Linked DNA regions of Homo sapiens: region 1 is linked to region 2. The links are contacts of gene promoters, found by promoter capture Hi-C in blood cells and fetal thymus (Javierre and others, 2016). All regions are on one chromosome and are shown on one strand. The core of a region is centred on a gene start or on the middle of the fragment in contact, and the rest is flanking DNA. Distances in the headings are between cores, read along the strand shown.

What was found. The method cuts DNA at HindIII sites, captures the fragments that hold promoters and counts their contacts. A CHiCAGO score of 5 or more calls a contact.
Region 1: a fragment that was not itself captured here is called in contact with the fragment with the promoter of DSC3 in region 2 in 1 of 17 cell types (M0 macrophages); the score reaches 5.0 in M0 macrophages.

The regions. Positions count from the first base shown.
Region 1 is chr18:31,409,132-31,412,081 of GRCh38, reverse strand. DSG4 (desmoglein 4) reads right to left here. Exons shown (of 16, transcript NM_177986.5): 13 at 2,491-2,630; 14 at 2,274-2,337; 15 at 634-851. The region is part of intron 1 of DSG1-AS1 (DSG1 antisense RNA 1); the gene reads left to right. Among named protein-coding and RNA genes, the nearest start is that of DSG1-AS1, 16 kb to the left of the region's middle. The HindIII fragment of the contact is 169 bases long and covers 1,320-1,488 here.
Region 2 is chr18:31,041,381-31,044,511 of GRCh38, reverse strand. DSC3 (desmocollin 3) reads left to right here and starts at 1,770. Exons shown (of 16, transcript NM_001941.5): 1 at 1,770-1,920. The coding sequence starts at 1,852. LOC124904345 (a long non-coding RNA gene) reads right to left here and starts at 2,979. Exons shown (of 2, transcript XR_007066445.1): 1 at 2,678-2,979; 2 at 1-2,070. The HindIII fragment of the contact is 1,969 bases long and covers 879-2,847 here.

The sequences.
Region 1 (2,950 bases), core at 155-2,654, 370 kb before region 2:
AAACATGGGGGTGCATATATTTCTTTGATATACTGATTTCCTTTCTTTTGGATATATACCCAGCAGTGCTATTGCTGGACCCCTTTTCGTAGTGAAGGTCAGTTGGTGGATAAGTCACTGGACTGAGAATAGGAGAGCTATCTTCTAGGTCTTAATCTAGCACGAGTTGTGGTGATGCTGCGTTCCTGAGTTTTAACTCCTTTCGTTCCCAATTCTTTTTATTTTCTCTTTTCTGTTGGAGGCTCCGGGAGAACATGAAGGACATCAAAAACAGAGGTCATAAATGCACCTTTTTTCCCCTTGATGAGCATTTTCCTGCTTTGCTACTGCTGTGGGAAACAAGGTGAGGAATCAAGGAAACAAAAGATAGAAAAATGGAAAAGGGAAGTGGAGAATGATGAGGGGTGTGGCCTTGTTCACGGTACTAAGATGCGCTATGGCAGTTGAATATGAAATCCTGTGGCAAATTAGCATTTTGTGTTTTAAGGAGACGTGAAATACTTTTTATTCAGGTTTGGGATAGGGTTGAGAATAACAGCATATTTCCGAAGAGGCCTACTACCATTGTGAGTATTTTACTATTATTATTATTCAATCTCAAGACGATTTTATGTGTGACTGTGAGGGCATTACCTCCGAGAAGTAGCTGTCCAAGAAAGCCATGTTGATGTCTGCGTCAGCGTAGTCCCGCAGGGTTCCCATGGTAGAGCTCCTCTTCCTTGCGGCCCCTGAGGCTCCTGCGGCCCCTGCGGCCATGAGGCCAACGGCTGTCCCCATACCTGTGTTGAGCTCCACTCCCGATACACCTCCTTCCACCGTGCCCCCGGCTGCATAGGTGTTGGTGTAGATTTCTGAAAAGGGAGGATGTTGGTTTAACAGCGCTGGAGTTGCCTGCAGCGCGCATCTGCCTAAAACGCTGCCGCCGCCGTCTGCGGTGCCACCACCACCCGGCAAGGCGTAGGCGCTAAAAAGCTGACAAAGAGAGATACAAGTTACACCGATACATCTCCAGGCTTGTTGACCAAATAAAAGTAAATTAATTACACAGAGGGAGTCAGTGGTGGGACGTGGCCTTCCCACATTTGCACAGACTTCGCCCTAGACTTAAAGGTGTAGAACTAGCCAAGAGAACTACAAGCAGGCGCCCGTTCCCGCCGTGGCTGCTGCGGGCTTGATCCAGCCGGGAGCCCTCCAAAGCAAGGCCAGCGGCGTGATTGCAGAAACTGAGCTCATAGTCCTCCTTCACTCCGGAACAGGATGGAGCTGGGCTCACAGGGATGTTCAGTCACGGAGTTTCTTTGCATACAAAGGGCCAAGCTTGGGATACTAAGGAACCATCAGAGAAAGCTCACGTGCACTGCAGAATTAAGCACCCTCTCTGTTTGGTGCAATCATTGCCATATAGCTAAGTAGTGTGTTCAGTATTGTTAGATATGCGTGGGGCTGGTAAGATAGGAGAGTTTACGACACTCTTTTGAGGCAAAAGCTTGTCTGAAGTTAAGAAAAGTTATTCAGTGTATTATTAGAGTACATTTACTGCCTTTTCTTTAGCTCTTTAAAAAAAAACAGCTTGTATTATAAATAATTACTACAGTGCCAGGCACTACTCTAACGTATATTTTGTGATATATGTATATATACACACTTATATATGTGTGTGTGTATATATATAGACACACATACACATGTATGTTATATATAATAAAATAATCTATACAATATATGTATGTATTATATATTACATATGTAATATGTATTATTTACTCCTCACAGCAACACTTTAAAGTAGGTACTATCATAAGCTCAATTTTAAAGATAAGGAAACTGAGGCCCAGTGAGGTTAAATGTCTTGACTAAGGACTTATTACTACAGGTTGAGCATCCCAAATCCAATAATCAAGAATCCAAAATGCTCCTAAGTCTGAAACTTTTTGATCATCATGGTACAAAAAGTTTGAGCCAAACTCAAACTCATGGTCCTATGCATTTCGGATAAAAGATATGCAACCCTTAAGCAAGTGGCAGAGCTGGGAATCAAACCCAAGCATTCTGCTTCCAGAGTTTGCTCTTTTAACTGCTGTGTCATACTTCACTGTCTGTAGTTTCAGATAGAAAAAAAAAGTGGCTACTTCAAACAGGTCACATTCCCTCTAATTATACTGTCACCCAAAGAGACTGACAGACTTTTCCATAAGGTACTTTTACATGAAGTTGGTCTGGTTGAATAATTTTGAAAAATTTAAAAGGAAAAACAGATTTTGGTGTCTACTGACCAGAGGAATCCATCCGATCCTGGGTATTTGAGGCTGTCATGGGTGCACATATATTTGACACATCCTGAAAAGAAAAATAAACATTTTAAAAACAAACGCTTTATGTTAAACATTTAAAAACTGACATCTGTTCATTTTTGTGCAGCATGTAATTGTTAAGACATGCTCAATTTCCACTGAAACTCCACACTTCTCTGGAGAGTGACAGTCCACTTACCCTGTCCTCGGGATGGGCCCCTTCAATTCTCCAAGACTGCATCACTCCTTCTCCGCCCTCAGGCACAGGAGCAAATCTTGTTCCCAGGCCTTCTGGCTGTCTCTGTTTGCAGCAACACAGGAGCAGCAAGAGTGGAGCCACTGCCCAAGAAAGTGACAATGTCGAGTTAACACACATTGCTCGGTTTAGGAAGTCACTGGATGAATCATTCTGGGGAGCATTTGGTGGCAGTATATTTAGAACAAAAATACAAATATATGTAAGAAAATCTCATTTTTTTCCTTTAGGGGATTGAGTATACATATCCAAGTTTATAAATACAGCACCACCAAATCACATAGAACTTTAGCGCTAGATGGCAAGGAGTTTGCGATCAGGTAATTGAATTTCTTTGCTGACAGATTAGGAAAGTAAGGTCGTCTTTAGTCTAAGACTCTTGAACTGGTTGGGGCAGATGCAC
Region 2 (3,131 bases), core at 521-3,020:
CATGTCCTGTTGATGTTGTGTTATCTTGAAGCATTCTCCTACCCTTTCCCTTTTCTTTGCTGGGCTTATCGCAACATTTTGCTTCTTCAAAGCTTTCTTCAGCTAAGTTAGATCCTCTCCTCTAAAATGCCTTAACACCTCAACCCTTCACTCTAACAGTGAATTCAAAGTGGTGAGGGAGGGAGATTGGTGCTAGCCATCTCCTTTACTCATCTAAGTTCAAGAAAACCATTCTACTTGAGTTTCTGAGGGCTGGGGGGCTGGAAGTGACTTTGAGAAGCTTTCTCTGAGGTCATGCTGGAGGCACGTGGAGGATGGGAGGTGAAAACCCTGGAGTGGAGAGAAGTTTGGAGAACTTTCTCTGAGACTGGAAGAGCTCTTACATACAGAGACCTCCACTGACGGGTGCCTGGGAGATTCACACTGGGAAGCTCAACTTAGAGTGTCTGAGCCCTTAAAGCTGAGCCTCATGAGTTTCAGGGAAGCCCCAGACTTCAGGGAATACATGGCTTAGACGACGAGGAGTCTATTAGACTTGAGCCAGAGTGAGATGAATGAAGGTCATAACACCCTTTCATGATTAATTGGCTGTCTGAAATTCCCGACCTTGCAACTTTTGAATGGACTTCGAGGAGTAGCATCTCATGTCTGAGAGGGATTTCCTCCTGAATCCAGTAGATGGGAACTCGGGGAACTTAAAATTCAGTTTAGGGAGAAATAAGAGGATGTCCCCCTGGTGTTACAAACGACATCTCTATTAAAAAGTGTAGCCTACTGGGCTAGGAATGATTGTCTTTCGTCCCTTTCTGACTTTGAATTATTTCCGACAGGAACTAGATTTTCTGCATTTCCTTTCTTCCATGCCCTCACACAAAGCTTGGCCGACTTCGGGCCCTGATAAATAGTCGTTGCATGATGTAGAATCTGTAAGCCTCGTTTTAGAAGGTTTTGTGTGGTAGATATTCCTTTGACCACCTGAAAAATTTCATTTTGGTACCAGTAAGTAGTAAACCAATAATTCACATCTAAGAACAAAGTCGTTTTTAGAAGGTTCATATGAGTCCCCCAAACTGACAGTTAATAGAGCGCTGAGTGTAATCACTCATATTTTGGGTGCGTAAAAATGGTTAGATTAGAATTTCTTAAATTTGGTTTTAATTTCTGACATGCCAAAAACTGTTTATCATGCCATCTGGGATAAATTCCTTCTGTCGTGTATTTTGTCATGTTAGTCAAATCCGGAGAGAATACAGTACATGTATTTTGCTTTAATCTGAAAACATTGGCAGAATTTGTTCAGACGTCGAAGGGGAGATCCGCTGATCCAATGACAAGGGTGTTCCTGGCATCCAGCAGAGCCCGTGTCGAGGCAGGGATCCCTGCGGGCGGATTGGGGTTCTGCATTGAGATGCACCGCGCAGCGCCGGCGATGGGGCCGCCCTGGGACGATCTGGGCTGCCAGGGCCTCTCTGCGGGCCGGGCGGGGCGGCAGCGCCGCGGGGCAGCCGAGGGGCGTGGGAGAACTGGCAGAGGGTGCGCCAGAGACCGCTTTCCCGAGCGCGAACGCCCGGGTGGCTGCTGGGGAGCAGAGGGGCAGGCTCGGGCAGCTCCTCAGCCGCGCCGGCGATGATAAAACTTGAGAAATAACAAGGAGTGGCCTCTCCGCGTCCTCTGGGTCCAATCCGGTTTCAGAAGTGAAGTTGCTCCCGGGCAGGCAAGCCTGAGAGAGGCCAAATACACTTAAAAACAAGCAGCGGCGAGAAAAGCACCTCCCGCGCCCTGCACCTCGGCAGGTCTCGCTCTCGGCACCCTCCCGGCGCCCGCGTTCTCCTGGCCCTGCCCGGCATCCCGATGGCCGCCGCTGGGCCCCGGCGCTCCGTGCGCGGAGCCGTCTGCCTGCATCTGCTGCTGACCCTCGTGGTAAGCCAGATCTCGCCGGATAGGGCTGGGGTGGGGACGGGGGTGGATCCGCCCTGGACGCTGCACGGAGCTGGGGACAAAGCGGGCCGAAACGTGACAACCGCGGCTCAGATCAATGCTGCGGGTCTGGTAGCAGCCCCAAGTTCGGGCCTGCAGGAGTGAGGAGAGAAAACGTGTGTTTGCGGGTCGACTCTGGACTGAGCTTTTTGTTTTGAGACAAGGTGTTCGATTGTTGGAATTCTGAGTCGCGCTCAGGCTTCGCTGCGCTCTGGCGGGCGCCGTCGCGGGTTGGGCAGGGGGTTGGGATTCACGCTTCTCCCCAGGTGGTGGAGCTGGTGGTGATGGTGGTTGGAGGGCGCCTTTGGGTGGAGAGGATCCCTGAGAGCTCAAAGCACAGACTTGAAAAGGGATTTAGGGGCTGCCCCCTCCCCAGCTCTGGGTCGCAGTTGACCCGGATTGGTTCGTTAGTGAGTGGAGCCGGGGCTGTGTCCCTGGGTCCCTTGGTGGGGCTGCCCCTGAGAAGTGGGTTTCTCGGTATCTCCCCTAAAGGGTATTCAGAAGCTCACCCAAGCGGTCCACCCCCGCCAGCCACCCAGCTGGGGGCGGGATGTGCCGGGGGCGCGAAAGTGTGGGAAGACCGGGCCAGAATGGGGGTTGGGGTCGTGTTGTGTTTTGGGGATGCTGCCGAGGTGTGGAGGCGGGTAGAGGGTGACAGTGGTGGGGGATGATGGATGCGGTGGGGTTGCGTCGTACTTACTCCGGCTCCGGGGAGGACTGCGCGGCCGGAGCACAGCCTGGGGTTTCGAGTCTACGGAAACCTGCCGCCCAGGACGAAATCCTCTAGGAGAGGAAGTTAGAGACGATGCTCTGAGAACACGGGAGACTTGAAGTGTTCGGAACTCTGGCGGCGCGGTTACACGCGAAGCTTCAGGCTTCAACAGAGTTTCATTCCGCACGCCCAGAAAGGAGCCGCGGACCCGCGACTTACCCGCATCCATGGATGCGCATGGGGTCCGATGGGAGCGAGGTCTATACCCGCGTCGGCAGTGAGCCGAGTCTGGTCTCGCGGATTCTTACTGCTTCCTGGCCCTCCACCCTGGCAAGTGGGAGTGGGTCCAAGGGTTGTCCTCCCTTAAGGTCAGCGAGGTATGAATATGGGATTGGTAGTTATGATCTACGATATGTTTATGGAGAAGGAATTGGACAAATAA